7 separate regions of the Homo sapiens genome follow, and all the other regions are linked to region 4. The links are contacts of gene promoters, found by promoter capture Hi-C in blood cells and fetal thymus (Javierre and others, 2016). All regions are on one chromosome and are shown on one strand. The core of a region is centred on a gene start or on the middle of the fragment in contact, and the rest is flanking DNA. Distances in the headings are between cores, read along the strand shown.

Region 1 (3,275 bases), core at 590-3,089, 800 kb after region 4:
TTCAAGCAGCTCTGGAAAAAATATGCTTTATTATCATGGTCAACACATTTACTGCAACATCAAAATATCTGAATTTAGTCTTTTTTCCTTCCTTTTTTCTGTGTACAAAAATTAGATTTTTAAAATTCTGTGATTTATTAAATATTTTTCCCACAAAAATATACTTTTCAAACTGTGATTTGAAAGAGAATAAAGAATGATCCATGAGAAGACAGAATTATTAAGCATTATAGAAAGCCAAAGAACTGAAGTGAGAGTAAATTTTTACTTCAAAGGTAAATTTTTCCTACTATTTTCCTTGCTATTCACAACAATCTTCTCAATAAGTCTCCAAAACCTATGACAATTAGTATGTTTTCTTCTTTGATTAGCCGAAGATCACAGAATCCTACACTAGTTATAAATCTCTATAAATTTTATGTAATATTTTCTTAAAATGATTCTTCTGTTTTATTTTTCCTTTTTAAAAACAATTGAATAATAGGTTGAGTGTACTTCCCAAGGTAGAAACTATAAACAGGAACTAGTATTTTCAGCAGCAGGTTAAGTTACCTAAAGATGATTAACTTTGTTTTGGCTTTATTTTTCCTGTGGGTTTCTAATCAACCCTTTCCGGTAAGTTTCTAATCAATATCCTTTCCTTTAAAGAATCCTTCCTCATTAGAGTATTTACATCCATTTTCAGTTTCCATAATGCAGGTAGACAGGTCAAATATTCATTCTTACAATTTCAAATTCAGAGTGATAAAAATATTAATATATATGTTAATTTTTATATTTCCCAACTAATATACTTTTACATCATTACATCACTAGATATAGCAGTGTTTCAATGCAACTATATGCCTATTTATAAATGTAACTTTAGTTATTACAAATAAGTTTTAATCTCTTTCAGTTGAAACTTTCCTAAATGTAGTATAATTATTTACTATTTGATTACTTGTCAGAATCTTCATAGTTTCAAATTAAGAGAAAAATAAGTATGGTATTTCCATTTACAAAAACATCCTATGGCACTGACTTTGAATCTGGAACACAGAATGTTTTTTACCTCCTTGTAGACCTAGAACATAAAGTCTGTTAAGCTTCACTAAAACTATGACTAATCATTGGGTGTACCACATTTTTCGGTTGTAAGAAAATAATCTTTACAGTATAAATGATTTTGTAATGAGTATCACAATGTACTGCTTCAATATCAGAGGTTTGTTTCCCAAGTAAGAATTCACTAGCTTACTTGAAAAGCAGTTACAGTAGATCCTTTGTTCACAAGCCTCCTCTGGCCCTATGCCCAACAAAAGAAAGATTCCCAAAAAATCTGGGCATTTTTGCTTAAATACTTAAGTATTTTCATAAGGTTAATAAACCTTTTATAAATGATATAAAAGGATGTTGTAAATTAATATCTTTATCAATCATTATTATTTCTCATAAATGTACATTTTTATCTTTCAATAATTTTCTAATAAAATATTACTTTATTTGACATTTACTGTAATGGTAAAGTAGTTAAATCAGCACCAATTCTGGAGGTTCCACAAAGGGGAGAGGGCAGTAAAGGGAGTGAGTGCTGAAAAAAAGTACCTATCGGGTACAGTGTTTACTATTTGGGTGATGGGTACACTAGAAGCCCAAACCTCACCATTAGGCAATTTATCCATGTAACAAACCTGCAAATGTACCCTCTGAATCTATTAAAAAATCAAAATCTTAAAATGATAATTATTTATTCTTGCTTATAAAAGAGTTAATATTTAAAAGCAATAAGGTAGAATTAACTGGTTAAATCTATCGAGAGCAATGTTCAGGTGCTTTTGAAGTGATATATAAGCAAAGAAGAGAAAGAAAGGAAAAGGGAGGTTGCAAAGTAATAGACAAATCACTTCTACAGTCGTCCGACAGTAAACGTTGGGGATTGACTCCAGGATGACCACCATGTATACCAAAATCAAAGCTATCCCTCCGCATATGCAGGTTTCTATAATATTTCCCATGAATACTTTATTTTGGATTTGCATTTGTTTGACAAAAAAATTTGTGTATAAGCGGGCCTGCGAAGCTCAAACTGCATTGTTTAAGAGTCAACTGTACTTGTTACAACTTAAAAAACATGTTTTTATTTCCTAAGAATAACAAACCAAACATAGAAGAAAAATTTACCCACTAAGAAGAGCTTGCTTGTCACAATGTTAAATGAAATATTATACCATGATTTGATCAATTAATTACCATTTGAGCATTATGTTTTGACTAAGCAAACATCACATTCACCTATCTAACAGACGTTTATCAAGATTCTTCTGCATTAAATGCACTGTTGTGAAAGACCAGAAAAAACCTGTTGCGTGGTCATTACCCTTGATTTACTTCGGAGTTCATTTTGTGACATGAATTCTACAGATGTAAACAGCACCACATGAGAACTCCCTAAAAGTCTTATAGGACTTAAAAAAATTACTTTCGGTCCTGGTAGGAAGTTGATATTTGGGTAGGGCTTGAATGAAGAGAAAGATTTTGACAGACAAACTGACAGATTAAGAATTTTCTGGGTAGAGCACCTGTAGAGAGGTACAAAGAAAGAAGCTTTAAGTTGTGTTCTGTGAACCCCAGGAAGATAGGTCTGATGCATAGAAAGAAATGAAGTTACACATTTAAGAGATGGAACATAAATAAGAATCATTTGCTCATGTCAAATAAAAGTGGACATTTTTTACTATTTTTCTGTTACATACATCACATTGGTTTCACATGTGCACAATATCTGTGGCCTACACCATAAGTTAAATTATTAAAATAAGTTCATATCTATAAACTTTCTGTGATCTACTAAGAACAGTTTGGGGAAATCGAATAGACAGAATTCAGACTGCAGTGAGGGGGACTGAGTGGCCTCAGAAAGAAAGGGAATACAGAAAACTCTTCCAAAAGTTTCTTTCATTCCAGAAAACTTTTCTGTATGTGGTACAGGCTTTGTGCTACATACTGGGATACAATCACTGAAATCACAGACTTGGTCCTTGAGCCCCCAACTGGGAAAATTAGGGTTGAGTGACGTGCTTTTACTACTTTATGTAAACAGCTAAGCCAGGTATCAATTTTAGGGCAAAGTTGAAGATATAAAGAGTCTTATCTATGGGGGCATAAGTCTTCGTTCTGAGAATCACTGTGTCTAACAAGAGATATCAATAGACGTATGGTATAAATGTAAACATGACAGGTATATGGAAAAAAATAAAGTCATGGAAGTAGGGTAAATTAACTCCTGACTCTGA
Region 2 (3,522 bases), core at 578-3,077, 730 kb after region 4:
AGAAAGAAAAGCACACCTTTCATTCTTAGAGGGTTTTATATATTTAAAAACACTTTGATAGACATTTCTCTTAGGCAAGCAGGGTAGGTAGCATTATCACAGTTTTTTCTGCCCAATGGTATATAGTTATATAATCTCATTAACTATGAGGTTATAGATCCAATTGCTCATACCTGTTCACCACAAAAGACTAATTGAATTAGAATATGTTTGTATTATAGTATTTTTGTTAATATTATGGTATTTGTACACAAATTAGAGTGTCGTTATTAGATTGTTATTAATCACACACATTTTGAAATGCTGTAAATCCTAGTGGGTTCAAGTTACTAGGGAGTTATTTCACAGATTCCACAGAGGGGTTCAAAGAGACATCTCTGGGGAGAGAGGGTGCCTTTGCCAATGATGCATCTCTAGAAGCTCCCACATTCATAGTCAGGTGAACTTTGCTGCTTTGTCCTGATGTTTACTGGCTTTTCTCCACATTGATTGAAATTCCATAATCATGGTGAGAATAATTAGAGTGGTGTCAAGGAATCTCCTACCTCCCACCTGTAGTGGGTTGAATGATGACCCCCATCCCAAAATAAAAGTCCACTCAGAACATCTGAATGTGATCTTATTTGGAAGAAAGGTCACTGCAGATATAATTAAGGTAAGGATATTGAGATGAGAAGGCCTTGACTTAGGGTGGGCCCCAAGTCCAATGACAAACGTCCTTATAAGAGATCAAAAAAGAAGAGAGGGGGCACCTGGAGGCCATGTGAGGATGGAGGTAGAGACTGCAGTTCTACTGCCACAAGTCAAGGAGTGCCAGTAGGCTCCAGGAGCTGGGAGTGGGCAGGAAGCATTCTTCCCTGAGGCCTTTGGAGGGAGTGTGGGTCTGCTGTCACCTTGATTTCAGATTTCTGGCCTCCAGAACGGTAAAATAAGTTCTTGTTTTAAAAAGAAGTTCTTGTCGTTTTAAGCCACAAGCTTTGGGTACTTTGTTGTGGCAGCCCCCGGAAAGAGTGCGCAGCCCCTTACGCACCTTCCAGTGGTGGCTCATGGTCCAGCCTTGAGAAGTTCTCTCCCTGCTGCTCATGCCTCCTCTCTGCCCCCCTGTCCCGGGTACTTGGCCTTGGCGTGGCCTGTCCACACATGGCTGTGCTTGAGCATGGTGGCATTGGTCCCAGGGACAGGGCAACTTTATTCCATAAGTGGAAACGACAGAGATTCTCTGACCACACACACCTGGGGACTGGAAATGAACCTATAATCTCAAGGGAGGTGAGTCAAAACTCAGAATTCATTCACCAAAACAAAACCTCTTGATTGATTCTTGGTGGAGATAAAGATGAAAAAGATTTGAGTATGCATATAATTATAAAATACTTATACTGTATTCTCAAGCAGATATTTTTACACCATATAAAAGGCAGTTGCCCCACAAGATTAGTCCTTAACCTTAAGGTTTAGTCAGTCCTAGTTAAATTTTCCCTACTGAAGGCTAGCGCATCAGCATTGACTCTCAAAAGATCCCTCTGCATTCAGCGTCTTCTCGGACCTGCACGAAGCACTGCTGCCATCTTGTGGCTGAGATGCGCCACTACACCCGCTTATTTTATGAGGTTCTAGCTCTCACCAACAGAGGGCAGGGTTGAGGCCCCTGCCTGCAGACAAACCCTTGTTCATAATTTTGAGCCAAATGCTAGTGTGGCAGAGTGAGATTTCTTTTTAAACTAAATTTTGAGAAGAACCAGGTAATACAACTGCTATTTGCCTGTTAATAAAGCAGGGGAAATTCACAAATATTTCACAGCCTCCTAGGAGGTGAGAACATGCCACTAGATACACTATTTTGAATTTCCTATTTTCCTACTTCCTATCCATCTGATGCCCTAATGGCAGCTAACAGGGAGGAGTCCAGCGTGGGAAGGTGAGGAGGGTTGGGATTGCAGGAGGCCAGGTGATACCCTGACACTGGGCTTCCTGTTACCTTTGGAACTGAGAGGCAATCCAACCCTAAAGTGGTAGAACTTTGTTTAACTCTCCAACAACTAGGGTTCTGATAGCCTGATTTCCTAGGAAAGAGGATTTATGTAGCTCAGAGTTATATTTGGTTTGTGGTTGCTATTAGAGTAAAAGAATCAGGCCTGGTGTGGTGCCTCACACCTGTAATCGCAGCCCTTTGGGAGGGCAAGGCAGGAAGACTGCTTGAGGCCAGGAGTTTGAGACCAGGCTGGCCCACATAGTCCGACCCCCATCTCTAAAAAAAACTTAAAAACTAGCCATGTGTGGTGGTGCATGCCTTTTGTTCCGGCTACCGAGGAGGCTGAGGCTGAGCCTAGAAGTTTGGGGCTTCAGTAAGCCATGATTGTACCACTGCATTCTAGCTTGGGTGACGGAGCGAGATATTGTCTCAAAAAAAAAAAAAAAAAAAAAAAAAGAGAGAGAGAGGGAGAGAATCTATCTTTCTTAGTCTCCATCTATCTTTTCACAAAAGTGAAATTTGCCTGACTGACCCGCATCAACATCCCCCTTCACCTACCCCCAATAAAATCGTCAAACAGAGCAAAGCTCAGAGCAAGAGTGAAGGTTCTGGGGCCTTCCCATTTGTCCTGCCTCCTTCCTCTTCCATCATTGTCTAAAGAAAGGCTCAAAGAATGTTTCTTAATTCTTTATAATTGGAAAGCTTTCATCAAGAGTGTTTTAAAGAAAAAGAAGTGCATTTCTGGAGCATTACTCTAGGGTCACCAACTTATCAATTTTAATCGATGAATCAGAGATCTAGACTGAAAAATCATGAGTGTTTTTGCTGGTTTTACTTAGTAGATAGAAAGGCCAGTGGAAAGTGTGGCCCGTCACAAGGCTCTGCTTTCCAGGCCTGGGCATTCAATCTTTCTGTGCAAACTGAGCTCCTCCAACCCCTGCATCACTTGGAGGTGGGACCGGCTTCATAGGCCTGGGTCCTGGGCAGTCACACCAGCCCTCGCACTCAGGAGGCCTGCTCTTGGCTTCACGCTCTGCTGTTGCTATCTTGAAAATCTTAAGAATTTTTTAACATGCGGGCTCAGATTTTTATTTTGTACTAGACCTCGTAAATGACATAATAGGTCCTGCCTGGGAGTGTGTTAGAGATGCATTATCTGAGGCCTCATCTTGGACTTCTAAAATTGAATGTGTATTTTAACAGGATCCCAAGGTAAATGGTTGCAACTTTAAAATTTGAGCACTGATCTTAGCTGCCTATGAAGTTGTGGTGGCAGAACGCAGATGAGTGAGCAGGGGGTGAGTCCTTGGCAGAGAATGCAGGGGAAGATCTGCCTTCTCCTCTTCAGAATGGAAGAATCAAAAAGCAGAGAGCCTGGGGGTGGGGGGCACTTGGGAGATGATGAAATTCAGGGAGAGAGAGGAGAGTAAGTGGAAATTGTTTTACAGTACAGGAACCAGCTCTCATAAACCATTTCCTTTATAACTTGGTGACCTGTCATAAATTTTTGAAAAACTTAGTTCTAACATTGGAGCACAAAAGTGAAATTG
Region 3 (3,745 bases), core at 620-3,119, 710 kb after region 4:
GGTACACCCTGAGAGAAGAGTATATTATGACCTCATTAATGGAAATAAAATAAAAGGACAGAGATGTTTGAATTGAAACGAAAGTGGGACCTTTCTCATTTAGAGATACAAGATTGACAAAACAGAAGAAAACCTCTGTCCATGTCAGCTTGGGGACAGCAAAAATGCAAGAGCCTGTGGCATTAGGATGGGGGATGTGAGAAGGACTGGGATGGCAGCTTAGGGACACATGGGAGACCTAACAGCAATGTCTGAATAACAATGGCCAAGTCCCACTGATTTAGCGACTAGACACCAAAAGATCTTCACTGTTACTGGGCCTTGTTCATAACCATAACCATTGCTGAATTGGCTAAGGATAAGATCCAAATATCCCACAGATGATTTGAAAACAATGATAATAGTTGTTTGGACTTGACTTCTGTTGTGTAAATGTTGCAAGAGGTTGGTCAAGAATATTGAACAGATGAGTTGGGTGAGGTGGTCTGAGTACATGTGAGTGTGAGCCTATGACTAAAGAGTCAAGGAACAGAATACGCTCAACAGAGGTGAATGAAAATGTAAACCTGGCAATTGTCAAAATTTTGGACAGCCTTAAAACTTTTAAGATGTTGTCACTTTAATATGCCCTTAGGTTTCTACATTTCTACATCTTTCTTTCTTTCTTTCTTTCTTTCTTTCTTTCTTTTTTTTTTTTTTGGACAGGGTCTCACTGTCTCCCAGGCTGGAGTGCAGTGGTGCAATCATAGCTCACTACAGCCTCGACCTCCTGGGCTCAACTGATCCTCCCACCTCAGCTACTTGAGTAACTAGGACTACAGTGTGTGCCACCATGCCCAACTAATTTTTTTTTCATTTTTACTTTTTCTAGAGAGGGGTCTCACTATATTGCCCAGGCTGGTCTCAAACTCTTGGGCACAAGCCTTGGCCTCCCAAAGTGTTGGGATTACAGGTGTGAGCCACCATACCCAACCAGCCTCTACTTTTTTAAAAAAATTACTATCCGTTAAGTAAACAGTGATGATGAAGTAAAATAAAGTTTTGCCAAAGCTTTAGGTATTAAATCTGTTTTAAAAACTCACTTAACTATGAAATTTTACTTTGTTTTTATTTATTTTTTAATTTCCTGGGTATTTTTCTGTTCTGGCCAACTATCTTTGCTTTTTTGGCTTAGGCCAGTGTTTTCTGCTTTAATATAGTTATTATAACCACCATTTTAATGTTCCTGTGATGTTGCAAATGAAAACCCCAAGTCACTTTTATCTTGTGAAAATCATGTGCTAGATTTATTGATGAAAAGGAAAGTGCTTTTATGAGTCCAGTATAGATGCACTCCAGTTATTTAGCATCATAATACTTACTAACTGTGAATATGGTTTTGGCAGAACACACTGTCACCTTTAGGAACATTTCAGTAGGGGCTGGTGGTTATGTGATTGGCGTTATTTTCTCCATGATTACATTTATCAAAAATGAATACATTAAAATTAAACAATCATAATGTTTACCATTACTCTATTACATAAAAGGTAAAATTAGATTTCTGATCATTTATTTTCCCACAATCTGGGTAGTAAATAGAAAAATATTGGTGCATTTTCCACTTCGCACTTATTCCAAAATTGACCATATAGTTGGAAGTAAAGCCCTCCTCAGCAAATGTAAAAGAACAGAAATTATAACAAACTGTCTCTCAGACCACAGTGCAATCAAAAACTAGAACTCAGGATTAAGAAACTCACTCAAAACCACTCAACTACATGGAAACTGAACAACCTGCTCCTGAATGACTCCTGGGTACATAACGAAATGAACGCAGAAATAAAGATGTTCTTTGAAACCAATGAGAACAAAGACACAACATACCAGAATCTCTGGGACACATTTAAAGCAGTGTGTAGAGGGAAATTTATAGCACTAAATGCCCACAAGAGAAAGCAGGAAAGATCTAAAATTGACACCCTAACATCACAATTAAAAGAACTAGAGAAGCAAGAGCAAACACATTCAAAAGCTAGCAGAAGGCAAGAAATAACTAAGATCAGGGCAGAACTGAAGGAGATAGAGACAAAAAAAACCCTTCAAAAAATCAATGAATCCAGGAGCTGGTTTTCAACAAAGATCAACAAAATTGATAGACTGCTAGGAAGACTAATAAAGAAGAAAAGAGAGAAGAATCAAATAGACACAATAAAAAATGATAAAGGGGTTATCACCACCAATCCCACAGAAATACAAACTACCATCAGAGAATACTATAAGCACCTCTACGCAAATAAACTAGAAAATCTAGAAGAAACGGATAAATTCCTCAACACATACACCCTCCCAAGAATAAACCAGGAAGAAGTTGAATCTCTGAATAGACCAATAACAGGCTCTGAAATTGAGGCAATAATTAATAGCCTACCAACAAAAAAGTCCAGGACCAGATGGATTCACAGCCGAATTCTACCAGAGGTACAAGGAGGAGCAGGTACCATTCCTTCTGAAACTATTCCAATCAGTAGAAAAAGAGGGAATCTTCCCTAACTCATTGTATGAGGCCAGCATCATCCTGATACCAAAGCCTGGCAGAGACAAAACAAAAAAAAAGAATTTTAGACCAATATCCCTGATGAACATTGATGCAAAAATCCTCAATAAAATACTGGCAAACTGAATCCAGCAGCACATCAAAAAGCTTATCCACCATGATCAAGTGGGCCTCATCCCTGGGATGCAAGGTGGTTCAACATATGCAAATCAATAAACGTAATCCAGCATATAAACAGAACCAAAGACAAAAACCACATGATTATCTCAATAGATGCAGAAAAGGCCTTTGACAAAATTCAACAGCCCTTCATGTTAAAAACTCTCAATAAATTCGGTATTGATGGACGCATCTCAAAATAATAAGAGCTATTTATGACAAACCCACAGCAAATATCATACTGAATGGGCAAAAACTGGAAGCATTCCCTTTGAAAATGGGCACAAGACAGGGATGGCCTCTCTCACCACTCCTATTCAACATAGTGTTCGAAGTTCTGGCCAAGGCAATCAGGCAGGAGAAAGAAATAAAGGGTATTCAATTAGGAAAGGAGGAAGTCAAATTGTCCCTGTTTACAGATGACGTGATTGTACATTTAGAAAACCCCTTTGTCTCAGCCCCAAATCTCCTTAAGGTGATAAGCAACTTCAGCAAAGTTTCAGGATACAAAATCAATGTGCAAAAATCAAAAGCATTCTTATACACCAATAACAGACAAATAGAGAGACAAATCATGAGTGAACTCCCATTCACAATTGCTTCAAAGAGAATAAAATACCTAGGAATCCAACTTACAAGGGATGTGAAGGACCTCTTCAAGGAGAACTACAAACCATTGCTCAATGAAATAAAAGAGGACTCAAACAAATGGAAGAACATTCCATGCTCATGGATAGGAAGAATCAATATCATGAAAATGGCCATACTGCCCAAGGTAATTTATAGATTCAATGCCATTCCCATCAAGCTACTAAAGACTTTCTTCACAGAACTGGAAAAAACTACTTTAAAGTTCATATGGAACCAAAAAAAGATCCCACATTGCCAAGTCAATCCTAAGCCAAAAGAACAAAGCTGGAGGCATCACACTACCTGACTTCAAACTATACTACAAGGCTACAGTAACCAAAACAGCATGGTACTGGTACCAAAACAGAGATATAGATCAATGGAACAGAACTGAGCCCTCAGAAATAATACCACACATCT
Region 4 (3,753 bases), core at 221-2,720:
GGTGGAATCTCTTTCTCTGTCTCTTGCATGTGGGCTGTCCTTGCCATTTGCTTTGACCAACAGGACATAGTGGACATTATACTGTGATAGGTTGAGCCTGAACTTCAAGAGGCCTTCAGATATCAATGTACTGCTCTTGGGAACCCACCACCACCATGTGAACCAGCCCAGCCTGCTGGAGGATGAGAGACCACATGAGCAAAGAGCAGTAATTCTAACTGAGACCACCTTAGTCCAGTCAGCACCAGCCAACACAGCAGCTGAACACAGAGCATGAGTCAGTTCACTTAAGACCAGAAGAACTGCCTAACAGAATTGTGGGCTAAACAAATGGTTGCTGTTTTAAGCCACTAAATCTGAGGGAGAGGGTTAGCTATGCAACAGATAACATGAAGAGATATAGGGTCATGACATTTTTCAATCAAAACACAAAATTATGGGAACAATAGTTTCAAAAGAGTTTTGGGAATGATTAGTCATCAATTCCAATAGAACGATGTGGTATAACAATTGCTACTGCATTAGATTAATGAAAGACGCAAATCTCAGGGTTTCATGTGCAAATGATTCTCTTGGTAGCTGGAGGTAGAGAGATTAATTTTTCCCAGGTAATGTTATTCTGAGGTTTCTATGCTTTTGGAGTTCAGAAATTGTTGTTATGCATTATACATGGCAAAAGAAGAAAAAGATGGCAAGGGAAGAAAAGCCGAACAAATTAGATGTTGAAAATAAAATACCTGTAAAAGCAATTTGGGACAATGTCAGGGAGTTTTATACTGCAGGTAGCAAAAAGCAAAGCCTGGGTAACTCATCTCTTTCCCATGTCAGTCATCCATTGCAGAAAAAGGATCCTGGCCTTTACTTAACCTTGTTTCCCCCCTTCTTTACCAAGTAGAGCACACCATGAAAGCGATTAAATATAATTTTAAAATTGTGTCATATTGGTTTCTGTTTATGCAGCAGACAACTAAGTGTGACTTTGAAGGAAATAATTTGAGATATATGAAGGAAAAATCACCATGCAGCTGAAAAGTGCTTCTCTTAAATATGGGCTAAATTCTGTGATTTGTGTAATGGTTAATTTTGTGCTTATTTTGTGCGAATTTTGGACGTCACCCACAGGTTATTTCTGAAAACTATGAAGTCTGAAGAATGAGGAAGGTGCCTTTTGTTCCCCTCAGTGCCAATCAATACTGTAACTGAGGTGGGCTGGGGTGGTAAAACTTACAGACAAACAGTAAGTTCTTTGGGGTGACAGTTGTCACGCCTCCTCCCTGCCTTCTAAATGCCCAGAAACATGCTAGCTCTGAGTAGCAGCCCTCAAATACCTTCTGATATGAATTGAAATCCAGTGGAGGGCTTATTCAAGTTCTAAGAATGAGCCGCTATGGAGCACACACATAAACCTCACAATGGTGGGTGGGACACACCTGATACACTTCTTAGGACAGAAAGGACTATGGCTGACAGTGAAAGTGGAAAAGAAACAGTGGGAGGAATGAGAGGCAAGAAGCAGCGGGTAGCACTTTTCTCGGTATCAAAGAGACGTGAAACTAGGGTAAGGACAGAAAACTCACTCCTGGCATTCCTCAGCCAATCCTTGCTTTCCTCTTCTATTTCTTAGTATAGAATTGCTAGTGAGGATACGAGTTAATGGCTAAGGAAGATACTTTGCATTGGTCCAGAAGAGCAGATTATAAAAACTCAGATTTGGAAGAAAATTTCTTAGAGGTTTTCTGGTTTGATCTCCTTAAGCTTCCAGAAATTCCTGACTGTTGATCATCCAACTTTGATTTGAATGCTTCCAATTATGGAATCCACTCAATTGCTGTGGAGTCTCTAAGTGCTAAGCTGCCATTATATTGAACTAAATATTGGTATCACACACCTTTTAGTTCTGCTTCTGCCCTTTGAAGCAACCAAGAACATATCTTCAACCTCTTGAAAAGCTGAAGAGGGGCCATACATTGTACAAGAAAGAGAGCTGCGTTAGAAGTTATGACACTTTGGTTTTGCAACTGACTAGTTCATGTCCTGCTCCCTCAATTTATTTATTTATTTATTTTCGAGATGGAGTCTTGCTCTTGTCGCCCAGGCTGGAGTGCAAGGGTGCAATCTCAGCTCACTGCAACCTCCTCTTCCTGGATTCAAGTGATTCTCCTGCCTCAGCCTCCTGAGTAGCTGGGATTACAGGTGCCCGCCACCACGCCTGGCTAATTTTTGTATTTTTAGTAGAGACAGGGTTTCACCATGTTGACCAGGCTGGTCTCGAACTCCTGACCTCAGGTGATCCATCCCCCTCAGCCTCCCAAAGTGCTGGGATTACAGGCATGAACCATCGCACCTGGCCTCCTCATTTTATTTAACTTGTTGCTGCAGTAATCACATACTCAATATTTTGTTAATATTCCTTTTGAGAGTCTGCACTAAGAGTGGAATATAATTGCGTAGCTATAGGTTGAGGCCAGGATTTTTTTTTTTTTTTGAGATATAATACAAAGGATACTGGACATAAAATGGTTAGACCAGAAGTTATAAACCCATGTCGTTAAAGGCAGGTAGGTAACGGAGAGGTCGAAAGGAATGGGGAATTGGTGGTTTGGGTTCCTGGAAAGACAATAGGGACTGGTTGAAATCTGCAATTTAAAAGACATAATCTATCTGAAGGCATTTGTGGTAGCCTGACTCTAACATGGTCCCCAGTGGCCCTCATCTCCTGGTATTACCCCCCTGTATAGTCCCTGCCTACACTGTACAGGGTTGGTCTTTGTGACCACTTACACATGAAAGAAGCGATGGCATAACACTTCTGAGCTTATGTCATAAAAGACTGCAGCTTCTCTCTGCGTACTCTCTCAGCTCTCTCTGGGGGAAGCCAGCTGCATGTCATATGGACATTCAGGCAACCTAGGGTGTGAATAATGTGGCAAGGAAATAAAAGGCCTGCTAGCAAATGCTCAGTTGAGCTTGGTAATGGGTCCTCTCCCAGCATCTCCAGCCAAGAGCTTGACTGCAACCTCATATGAGATTTTGAGCCATAACCATTCAGCTAAACTGCTTCTGGATACCTGACCATAGAAACTGTGAGATTATAAGTATGTGTTATTTCAAACCACTAAATTGAGGGTAATTTGCTATGTAACAATAGATAACTAATACAGCATTCAGATTCATTTTAAAGTATCAATGTGGACATGCACACACACTTTGCTGATGAAACAAAATATAGGGCTCCAGTTTATAACCCTGGGTTTCTCAATGAAACCTGGATCTACAGAAGCCAAAAGGTATGGTTAAGGCAGCACTCGAAGGTCATTTGGCAGCTCAGTTTCTGCTGGAAGGGAGGAGATGAAATCCATTCAGAGCTCAAGCAGGAAGCTATTTTATCCACCAACAGAAACAGAATATAATTTTCCTTATCACTGTAGAGTAACAACAAACCATGGGACAGAACCTAGAGAAATCTGACAGAAATCCTGTTCTATAATACAAAGAGCACTTGGATTAGAGTAGAAAGCCAGGTGGAACTTCAGTCTTATCAAAATAGAAAAGCATTTCCCCGTCACTAAAAACTAAGAACAAGCATTTCACAAAAAGTAATGGAAGAAGCAACCTGTTATGGTCTGAATGTTTGTGTCCCCCCAGAATTTATATGTTAAATCCCTAACCCTCAAAGTGATAGTATTAAGAGGTGGGGGCTCTGGGAGATGGTTAGGCTATGAGGGCAGAGCCCTAATAAATGGGATTAGTGCC
Region 5 (3,329 bases), core at 224-2,723, 820 kb after region 4:
TTAACTGTACAAGCTGAAGTAATGAGCTTGGAAATAATATATATTTCCCTGGACAATCTATATAATGCTATTTAAAGCTAAAATGCTAAAAAACAATAATAAGTATTTATCTCATATACCAAGTGTATAATAAACATAATATATAGTAGAAAAACAGACCAACTAAGACCAATATAGAACATTCTAGTAGTTTTCTTTTTCTTTGGAATTTGTTTTTTCTTAGTGTATTATACTGAAGTTTCACTATACATTGCATAATCCTTCAGCCAAATTATGGTACTATCTGAATTTTAAAAACAGGTAATAACTAGAGAAGTAGAACCACATCTCATATTTTAATTTTCTCCTTGGAAGTAATAGCACTAGAATTTACTGTGCCATATATTTTGGTTTACAATATGTTTTTAAAGCAGCAGTGCCTGGCTTCCTTTTTAAAAATAAACTACTTCACAGACTTCTGTTGTACTAAACAAATACTAGTAGAACTGCTTTAGTTGAAGTTGCTGAAGTCCTGCAGTCTAGGAATTCTCCTCCCCGTTTAGTTTTTCTCCTGCTCCTTGGACAACTTTCTCCTGTCTATCAGGCAATTCTTGGAGACAATAAGGTTCATTAGAACACCAACAGTCCATGGGCATAACTTTGAAAAACACTCGAATAAAACTGAACTCTTCAAGTGTCAAATCCAACTGTTAAATTCATCCAACTCACCATGAAGCACTGTGAAGTGGATAAGTTAAATATTAGTAATCAAAATTCGAATTTTAAATGCCGTTGCACTATATTATGTGTTAGCCGTCTCTCAGAAGACATTCAAGGATGACTTAAAAGTATAAAGTAACTTATCTAATACTTCATACCATGTATGCAGTAACTGAGTTATAAAGCAAAATGCTATATTTTCAAAGTATTCTGATATACACTATTTCATTTTATTCTCAAACAGTCTGGTAAGGTAGGAGTGGCAGGTATGATTCACATTTTTCAGATGAATATACATTTAATATTATTATTACACTTGTATGAAAATCCACTAAAAACATAGATCTAGGAATCATGTGTTTTGTTTTATACTAGATAGTGTACGGCACCTGCGTATAAGATGTACCCAATAAATGACTGGTGAATAAGTAAATGAATAAATCTATGACTAAGTGAAAAAAAATCAAGGTCTAAAGAAGTTGTACACTTGTTGAATGAAGCTCTCAATATTGGTTAGTAGAAGTACTGAGCCATAGCTGACAGAACCAAAGATTCACATCTGAGTCAAAAGCAGTCTTTAAGGGCAGGCTGGTAGTCTTCACATTGTCCTGGCATAGGAACTCTGATCACAAGATGCTGTTTATTCAGCAATCACTAACCATTCCCTTAACTTCAGGCTCACTTCATTCTTCTCCCTTATATTCAATATCCTCTGAGACTTCAGAATCTCTTTCTCAGTTTGAGCTGTATCAACCTTTACCTCCCACATTAGTTCTTCATTCTCCTCCTTCCATTACACCTCATGACTGAAATGGTCCTGTCTCTGCTGGCACTCTCTTCTTTCCTGAAAGTTTTCCAGTTCTTGGCTCCCTTCACCATCTCCTTCTATGTTCCTGATTGTTATTTTTCTTAAGCCCCTTAGATATTACTTCCAGTTTAACATCCAACTCTGCTTGCTCTGCCTTGGCATTTGCCCTCTAACTTGGGATAAAGTCTCTAGGGCCATGATCCTTCTTACTTTTCACACCTACATGTTTTTTCTTATTTATTAATTATTTTTAAATATTATCCTTTTCAAGTAAGCAAATTTAAAAAAAAATTTTAAAAAATGGTAACACATCAAATATGAACTATTTCTGGCAGTATGGTAGATGATATATTCTGATTCTAAAAAATCCTTTCACTTCCAAATGCCTAGTAATTATGATGGGAAAATTACAACAAATGCCTGTTAAAATACCAACTTGAGGTCACAAGAAAGAAAGGCATATGTCCTTAGCCAAAAACCAAACGAGAACTAAAACAGGTCGGTAAGTGAATGATGAATCTTTGGAAACCTTTCAGGTCTAGTGAGGAGTTAGAACTGAAATCCTCATGAGTCAAGACCCTTAAAGAACAACAAGGAAAAACGTGTGTCTCAGTCTAAGCTCTCACAGACCCTCACTGGTGGCTTTCTAATGCACTTTTCTCAGAGAGGAGAATGATCCAGAATGAAGGTCTAAGATGCACGAAAAATGGTTAGCAAAGAAACTAGAATACATATGGTTTAATATAAGGCATTTAAAAAAATAACATGCAATAAGGGGAAAATGAACCAATCTATAATTAAAACATTGTACAAGAATATGCAAATGGGGGAGGGATAGTAGCACAGCGAAGCATATGACAGTCATTTTTTTTCCTAGGAGAAAGTAGAGGTAATTATTAATTTTAAATTGACTACTTAACAAAATTTATATACTTGAGAAACTAGTCAGTAAAAATCACAGAAACTGCATAATTTCCAGTGTAATGGAGGGGGGAAATGAAAGAAAAATAATTCAATTAAAAACCGATCAGGAAAGAGAAAAAATAGAATAAGAAAAATTAAAAGCATACACCAATATAGAAGTAATTCCAAGTCTATAAGAATCAAAATAAATGCAAATTGATAAGCTAGCCAATTAAATGATAGAGATTGTGTGGTCAGAAAAAAATTAAACCTAGCTATTTGCTGTTTATGTGAGTATAACACATTGGTCATAGAAAAGTTGACACAAAAAGATGTGAACAGTGAATAGTTAGATTGAACACTAACTGAAAATAGCTTGTGTTATCATGTAAGAAAAACTGACTTTAAAACAAAATAATATTATAAGGAATAAAGAGATTTATTACATAATGATAAAAGGTTAAATCGCCAGAAAGACAAAATAATTCTGAACTTGAACCTAATTAAGTAATCTCATATAAGAAAAAATGGACAGAATAATAAAGAAGTTGACAAATCCTCTTCATAGATCTTAACTGAGCATTTTCAGTAAATACCAAATCGAATAGGCAAAAGAGTAGTAAAGCAATTGAAGTTCGGAACAGTGTAGATAATAAGCTTCATGTATTGGATATATAGATAACTCTAACTCAAGATTTTCATATGCATCACAAAAATCCAAGGATTACTTTTGAATTTTATCCTGTATTGCCTTACTGAATTGAAGAACTATTGTGAAATAAGGGGCATTTGAAATTATTTTCTATAACACTTTTCAAACATAACTGTAATATCAAGATTGACATTCCAGAATATATTAACTTCTATATTTGTTATCACAACTTAAAATATAAAATAATTTAATCTATATTGTTTTAAA
Region 6 (3,703 bases), core at 491-2,990, 750 kb after region 4:
TTGAAAAGTCGTTTAGTTCGTTTGGTCAAAGTAAATCTTCAAGTAGCTTTCTGAGAAATGTTAGAAATGAGGAAAATGATTTGAGGCCTTGCTTGGGGCCGAGTATGTACCTACTGTAGCCTCAAAATTACTTGATAGTTTGGCTGGCTTTTGTATTCTAGGTTGGAAATCTCTTGTTCCTCCGAATTCTGAAGGTAATGCTAACAGTCTTCTGGCTTCCAGTATATTGAAGAATCCAATGAAAATACGAAGAGCTCAATGAGAATCTGATTTTTTTTTTTTTCTTGGAGACGGAGTCTCGCTCTGTCGCCCAGGCTGGAGTGCAGTGCCCTGATCTGGGCTCACTGCAAGCTCCACTTCCCGGGTTCACGCCATTCTCCTGCCTCAGCCTCCCGAGTAGCTGGGACTACAGGTGCCCACCACTATGCCCGGCTAATTTTTTTTGTATTTTTAGTAGAGACGGGGGTTTCACCGTGTTAGCCAGGATGGTCTCGGTCTCCTGACCTCGTGATCCGCCTGTCTCGGCCTCCCAAAGTGCTGGGATTACAGGCGTGAGCCACAGCGCCCGGCAAGAATCTGATTTTTGATAGTTTTTTTGTAAAATTATTTTTCCTCTTAGGAAGCTTGCATGATTTTCTATCAAGCCTCAGTATTGTGAAATTCCACTATGTTGTGTCTTCAAGCTGATCTATTTTCATGCATTTTGCTGAAGTTCTTTCCCACTGCAAGATTACAGACAGATTAACTTAAGTGTTCTCCAGTACTTTTTAGTGTTTTTCTCCACCTTCCCTTTTCTTTTTTATAGTTGAGTCTAAAATACTAACTTTTTTGGTAAGTTGTGTAGGCGTGAGGGAATTCCATTAATTTTTTCACACAGGTAAATAGTTATGTTACTATACTTTACTGAACAGTCTTTTTTTTTTTTTTTCCATGCTGTGAAATGCCACCCATGTCCTACATTTACATCTATTATATCAGGGTTTCTGGTAATTCAAATATTTATAGCTAATTTTACTTCTTTTTTCATAACATCTCAAATTAGAAAAATGCACTTGAAATTAGAATAGTTGTTTGCAAACAGTAACTCTGTAGCTAAAATGTTGCTTCTCACTTGTATTGCTATTACACAATTTTAAATATTTTAAATGACTTTGTCAAACACAAAACATCAATTTTCTTGTAGAAAAAAAAAATGATTCTTACCCATTGCAGGGGTGGCAAGGGTTTGGCGGCCAACAAGCTGGGCTGGTCCCAATCCATCAAGAAAATCACTGAATTGACTGTCAGCTCCCAGTCGCACTCCAGGAAATATTAAACTATCAGCAAAAGGATAAAAACCAAAGGAAAAAACCCATGAAATCTTCTAGAATTCTTTTCACTAGTTTCCACTTGACTAATTATGATCATGAAACATAAATATTACTTAGACAATCTGTTTTTTTAATTGATTCTTTGCATTGCCTTTGAGCCAAGCATATGAGGCTTAACATTGACTGAGGAAAGGTGTAAACTCTCAATTTAACACCTAATGCTCTATTCAAGAGGGCTCAGTTATAGTTTTTAATATACCAAGTTCCAAATCCTTATATAAATGTGTTGCTGACAAAAAAACATAAGATGCGAATTTTTATATCATAAACTTCACACAGATACTTGCTCATGAACATTAGGTAACATTCATGCTAAATTTTTAAAGTGGCCAATAATTTCTTGAATAAATGTTATAACATAGTTCAAGTTCTTATTTATAAACATTTAATTGATTCAAAGATGAATTATTTGAGACTTTTATTTGGTTCCAATGGAAATTAATTGGTTAAAAAATCTGTATTTCTTCCTATAATACAACTTCCTGATAGCCCCAGGATGTAAGCTGCACAAGGGCAGTGCCTGTTCTCTTCTTGTTGACTGATGTAGTTATCACTGGGTAATGACAACTATGCTCATTATGTGATAGGCATTCAATAAGCATTTTTTGAATGAGCATATTTCTATAGAGACTTACTCTTTCCATTGTGCTTTCACATCTATTATTTCTTTTAACCAAGGAAATTAAATGGGACACAGATTATAATCCCATCCAGAGACCATGAAAATAAATCCAAGAGATTAAATGGTTTATGATGGAGGCAAATTTTATTTGTTACTTTTTTATATCAGAAAATGATGTGTTCAAGTCTCATTTGTATATTACTTTATGCTACTTCATCAAATATGGGTATTTTGTCAGTAAGTTTATCTCTGTAACTTTCATACCTGCTGATTTTTGTTCTTATATTCCTTACTGGAAACATGCATAACAAGCCAATCATTTGACCAACTAAACAGAGACCAACTAGTTTCAGGAATGGGAAGGAATATCACAAACAGTAACTTGGCATAATTCTGTTAAATTTTCTAAACAATATAGAAAAATTCCAGTAAAGACAAGAAATTAGAAATATCAAATTGGTATATGAGTAATGTGAATGGTAATGAACAAATAATTATGGAAAATTTATATGTGGTGAATCTCCATGTAATCCAAAACAACACATTAATTACTTATTTGTAAGATCCACTACCTCAATAAAAATTCAATTTTACCAGAAATATTCTCAAGCATAGGAAGAAGCAGGTTTTGTGCAGGATCCATATGAAATGGTAAAAAAAAAAAAAAAAGAAAAAGAATCGAAAAGAGTAAATTTTTAAAAATCGTATTCTATTTTTTCAGAATTAACTAAAACATTTTAGTCAGAAAAATAATGAAGCTGATAGACCCTGGATTATTTCCTAAGGTAAAAATGAGTCAGCAATGTTTTAAAAACAAGAAAATGTAACTTACATATATGACAGTGTTAGACTTAGAAAAGCTTAGGGTCCAAAATAGCTTGGAGAAAATTAAGAAAATGGGAAATCAGTTCCTTACTTATAAATTTTAACTTGGACTTTGGTGACAGGGACAGACTATGAGTTTCCCATATGAAAGAGTCCATTACCTGTGGCATTTGTACACTAAACATCCAGTAAGGAACTAGTCTGGGCTTTCCTAGATGCAAGAAATCAATTTGTTCATGTGGACTCAGAATTTCTTCACCCTTTGAAAGGTATGAATGACCAGGTGTAGAGGTGTGTCCATGTGTACTTACTTATAAGCCATCAGGGTGGTTTAAAATGGATGGTTGAACTTCTGATTAAATAGAGAAGCTGCACAGTAACACTCAGTGGCTTTGTTATCTTACTGATTAGTACACAATTCCTGGTTCCACAGCCATGCAGACGTGCTGACAGCACTTACTTGCCCTCAGAGCTGTAACTGTTGATGCTGCCATCAGTAGACTCTCGGCTCGGCTGCCTTACCATCTTTCTCATTTCAGCTGCCATGCCTGTTTCTGTGCTTCTCTGGATGGTACTTTTTAACTTTTTGTGGCCCGACTCTGACAGGAGAGAGTAAAAGAAACTCTAAGTTTTATTTAGACAGTTTACTCCTGAATATCAATTGATCCTGCAAATACAATAGTTAATTTTACACATAATTACAAATTTAATCAGAAAAATAGTAACCTAAGGGAGTACTTTGCTTGATTCAGGCTCCTTGCCAAAGTATGCTTGGCTAAGGGGAGTACCACTGGATGCTATGCCATGGCCACAGTTTCAGTGACTGCCTAAATCTCAATCAGCCAAAATGAAATCATTGTATTATTGATGGTGACAACTTCAATGA
Region 7 (3,674 bases), core at 1,041-3,540, 780 kb after region 4:
CCCTGCTTCTGAAGGTAATTATTAAATAAAATTGAAATTAGGAATTAATTTAATACAAGTATTACTCAGAATATAAAAAAATATATAAATAAAACACAAGCAACATGTAGATGACTCTTCTTGGATAATCTATGAAACCCTTCATTTGCAAAAGTATTCTCCATCATATTTTGATTGACAGTTCTTTTAGAAAGAAGTAAGAAAGGAAGTTACTGATAAATATGGATAGTACTGCACAGATTATATGTTTAGTCTTTGGAGAACAGCACTGTTTTTGAATATATATATGTATGTAAGACTGTCCTTTTCAAACTCTAGTGGTGACAACTGTACACTTTCAATTTCAGCCAGGCTGTTTGTGACATCAGAGTATCAGTGAATAAGAAAATGATTCTAGAAATAAATTATGAGGTTATACTTCTACCCACACTTTTTCTGAAAGCACAAAATAAATCTATTTTTGAAATTTCATCAAATTATTAACACATATGTTTCCTTTGGATCTAAAAGCTGACATTTCCCTGGTCCTTGCCTGAAAATAACAAAATAAAAGGCAAAATTTAGGAAGCCTAAATAGAAAATGTGACTGATAATTTCAAAATGCAAAGTAAATATACTTCTGAATTTCCAAAAGAAATGCTCATATATTTGCACTGAATTGTACCTAGAAGGGCTATATTGTATACAGTATAGCTGACAAATTTTAAATAAGAATAAAGTTGTTTTAAAGAAAAATATAACTTTATGATACCGTTAAGATTTATGTTTTGGTAGTAATGAGTTTAAGGACTGCTCAACTTCAAATCCAGCTTTAAAATCCTGTAAGTCTAGCTTTAAAGTTAATCATATTTGGATATTACAATGCTATAAATAAATCTACTGTTGCAACATCATTTTTTAATTATTTCGTCCACTGCATAATTTTTATGTTTTTTCATTTTCATTTAATTATTTGCAATCTGAAGTATAACACTACCTTTGAAAACTGTTAAACAACACTGAAAGCTTCAGACAAATATAGAAATTTGGCTTTTGGCTAGGTTTTATGAAAAGTTATAAATAAACAAACTCCCCTTATAACTTAGTAAATACATATAAGGAACATAGACTTACCTTGTCTATCTTGAAAAAATTAAGTATCAGCATTAAATTGTTCTCTGGGGAAAACTGAATGCCAAAGAAGCTTTGACCTGGTTTAAATAACTTGTGCGGTGGCTGGCTGGAATATCTGTCTGAGCTGCCTGTGAACTGTCTTCTCTGTCTCTCTCCCATTCTCTCTCCTCCTCCCTCACCCTCCGACACTCTCTCCTTCTCATGCATATACAGAATATAATTAAATTGCTTCTGTCAAGAGTGCTTCTTTCCTATAGCTTATTGTAAGACCATGAAGTGTAACATCACTAAGCAAATTTGCCATGTGTCATAAATTTGAAAACTGCTAAAGGGCCACAATTTGAAAACTGCCACAGTCACAACATTTTAAACAAACTATGTAACAAAGACATTTAAATCAAATGAAATGAAAATATGTTGCCTACTTTATTGAATATAATATAGCTTCTCCAATTAGGTAAGAAATCTCAGAGAAGTAAAGCTCAGGGCTAATACGTGATTTCCAGGATAAGTTTGTTTAAAAGGTTTTTACACAATTAAGGGGAAGGTTCTATATCGATCTCTTGTGTTGTACTCACTTGGCACTTGTAATACACATTTAATACACTTAAGCTGTCAAAATTATCACTTTCAATATATACTTATTAAACACTGATAGGTTTCAGCTGCTTTCCCTGTGTCGTTTCACGTCCCACCCTACTGCCACGAGAAAAACACTAGAACACTGGAAATAGAAAAACTTAGAAAAAAAAGGTTCTAACTTCTGTTGAGCACTTTTTACATACCATGCCTTATGCTTAGAGCTTTACACACATTTCCATTAACCCTTATCATAATTCTCTGGTATTGGTATTGCTATGTTTTACATGCATGAGAGGTTCAGAGAGTTAAGAAGTAGTAAGTGTCACAGCTACCACCACAAGTGAAAACAAAACCCTCCAAAACACAACCAAATTCTAAGGCCCGTCTTCTTCAAACGTGTGTAAGCTCTTTAAGCTCTTTTTATAACATCATGTTCATGGAAGGAATATGGAAACAACAGGATTTTACCGTAAGAGCATATTTCTGTGTGGCTCCTCCTCACCTCCATAATGGCACTAAGGAATTAAAAACATTAGAGTCTAGAGTGTTCTGTTTTTCCTCTTTTTCCCTCCAGGGCTGTGTCAACAGCATGAAGGAGTAAAAGTCAGCAAGAGTGATCATTTTTCATGGTTAACCAGGATAATCCTGGTTTATGCCTGTTCTAGCATATTACTAATGGTGGCCCTCTTTTACTTACAAAGATATTCCAGTTTGGATGCTAAATTATATAGTCAATAGACATATAAGTGGTAGAGCAATACAAGTTAAACTAAACCTGCCTCAAAACTGCAAGTGATATTTTGGAATTTTGACAGGACTGGTATTAAAATTGAAATGGCAAGGGATGAAGTCTATGTAATTCAAAAGTTTAGCCTACTGGTACCTTGGTAAACAATGTATCTGCCTCTCAGAACTTGGAGTATTTATCTGGGTTTATAGAAGGCTGCCATATCCATGTGGAATGCCATGGTTGGGTGCCCTGAATAAAGGTGGAATATAAACAGTGTTAAAATCCTGCCAGAGGACCCCAGCAGGGAAGAGAAGGCACAGAGAAAGAACGTAAAAGAATGGCTTCCTCAAGCACATACTGCAAATTTGAACAAATCAGAAATGAAATAACCTCATAGAACTTGTGGTTGGGCAAAGAGCACTTTTGTGCCTTAGAGCCCCTCACTGGCTGGGCACCTCTGTGCAAAGACCAAACCACACAATTAGGTGGAGACTCTGGGTAGAAAACTACGGGAGCAGATGCTATTGGTATCCTGGCTATGCCCCGTAGACATTCACTGTTCCTGTATGCAAGGATGCTGTCTTACTGGAAGCACCTCCAACCCTCTGCTGAGGGTTCCTTCCAATTGTGTAGTCAGCTGTGAGCATAAGGAAAGCAGGCCTGAAGAAGTCAGTGACTCTGCAAGCAGTCCCATAGCCAAGGACAAATGAGAGATGTTGGATAAATCCTACAATTTCCTCACGCTCAGAGGAAACACTTCTCATAGTCTCCCATAGAACCCCAATTGCCTACAGCAGAAATCTGATAATTAAACACCGTATTTTGACTTCCTTTCCCTGTCTCATTTCCCCACAATCAATACTCGTGCTTCCCGGGGATCAACTCTCAAATAAACTACTTGCACTCAAATCTTTGTTTCAGGGTCTGTTTTTAGGGGAGCCTGACCAACACAGTTGCCAAAGAGAAGCTTACTCTACTTTGTAAGGCTGGAGGACTATGTGGTTTAGCCAATATTTGAGAAAGATAAGAGAATTTTTCATGAATTAGTCAATTGATTAGTATTTTATAAAGATTAGAATGACATAACTTTTATTTGCCACAGACTATAAACGATTCACATTTCACAGGTAGCATGCGGGGACTGCACATAGAGTACAGCCTCCTTCAGATACTCATGCTCTATGGAATAATTTTTATATGGCTATCCATCTTGACTATTTTTAAAGGTGTAATTAGATCTTGATCAACA

Evidence for each region. The method cuts DNA at HindIII sites, captures the fragments that hold promoters and counts their contacts. A CHiCAGO score of 5 or more calls a contact.
Region 1: a contact is called between a fragment that was not itself captured here and the fragment with the promoter of KCNQ5-AS1 in region 4, in 5 of 17 cell types (total B cells, naive B cells, naive CD8 T cells and 2 more). The highest score is 9.5, in total B cells.
Region 2: a contact is called between a fragment that was not itself captured here and the fragment with the promoter of KCNQ5-AS1 in region 4, in 17 of 17 cell types (naive CD4 T cells, naive CD8 T cells, naive B cells and 14 more). The highest score is 33.9, in naive CD4 T cells.
Region 3: a fragment that was not itself captured here is called in contact with the fragment with the promoter of KCNQ5-AS1 in region 4 in 12 of 17 cell types (naive CD8 T cells, non-activated CD4 T cells, total B cells and 9 more); the score reaches 9.4 in naive CD8 T cells.
Region 5: a fragment that was not itself captured here is called in contact with the fragment with the promoter of KCNQ5-AS1 in region 4 in 2 of 17 cell types (total B cells and naive B cells); the score reaches 5.4 in total B cells.
Region 6: a fragment that was not itself captured here is called in contact with the fragment with the promoter of KCNQ5-AS1 in region 4 in 17 of 17 cell types (naive CD8 T cells, total CD4 T cells, naive CD4 T cells and 14 more); the score reaches 16.4 in naive CD8 T cells.
Region 7: a fragment that was not itself captured here is called in contact with the fragment with the promoter of KCNQ5-AS1 in region 4 in 8 of 17 cell types (total B cells, naive CD8 T cells, naive B cells and 5 more); the score reaches 9.9 in total B cells.

Annotation. Positions count from the first base shown.
Region 1 is chr6:72,347,015-72,350,289 of GRCh38, reverse strand. The region is part of intron 29 of RIMS1 (regulating synaptic membrane exocytosis 1); the gene reads right to left. Among named protein-coding and RNA genes, the nearest start is that of KCNQ5, 270 kb to the left of the region's middle. The HindIII fragment of the contact is 1,498 bases long and covers 1,091-2,588 here.
Region 2 is chr6:72,410,449-72,413,970 of GRCh38, reverse strand. No RefSeq gene overlaps it. Among named protein-coding and RNA genes, the nearest start is that of KCNQ5, 210 kb to the left of the region's middle. The HindIII fragment of the contact is 1,699 bases long and covers 978-2,676 here.
Region 3 is chr6:72,427,988-72,431,732 of GRCh38, reverse strand. No RefSeq gene overlaps it. Among named protein-coding and RNA genes, the nearest start is that of KCNQ5, 190 kb to the left of the region's middle. The HindIII fragment of the contact is 1,633 bases long and covers 1,053-2,685 here.
Region 4 is chr6:73,141,231-73,144,983 of GRCh38, reverse strand. It overlaps KCNQ5-AS1 (KCNQ5 antisense RNA 1), which reads left to right and starts at 1,470. Exons shown (of 5, transcript NR_046621.1): 1 at 1,470-1,558. The region is part of intron 10 of KCNQ5 (potassium voltage-gated channel subfamily Q member 5); the gene reads right to left. The HindIII fragment of the contact is 1,820 bases long and covers 1-1,757 here.
Region 5 is chr6:72,317,496-72,320,824 of GRCh38, reverse strand. All of the region lies in intron 28 of RIMS1 (regulating synaptic membrane exocytosis 1), which reads right to left. Among named protein-coding and RNA genes, the nearest start is that of KCNQ5, 300 kb to the left of the region's middle. The HindIII fragment of the contact is 3,193 bases long and covers 1-3,069 here.
Region 6 is chr6:72,390,311-72,394,013 of GRCh38, reverse strand. RIMS1 (regulating synaptic membrane exocytosis 1) reads right to left here. Exons shown (of 34, transcript NM_014989.7): 30 at 3,278-3,416; 31 at 1,204-1,316. Among named protein-coding and RNA genes, the nearest start is that of KCNQ5, 230 kb to the left of the region's middle. RefSeq lists a silencer at 3,100-3,300. The HindIII fragment of the contact is 2,229 bases long and covers 626-2,854 here.
Region 7 is chr6:72,364,306-72,367,979 of GRCh38, reverse strand. All of the region lies in intron 29 of RIMS1 (regulating synaptic membrane exocytosis 1), which reads right to left. Among named protein-coding and RNA genes, the nearest start is that of KCNQ5, 260 kb to the left of the region's middle. The HindIII fragment of the contact is 2,209 bases long and covers 1,186-3,394 here.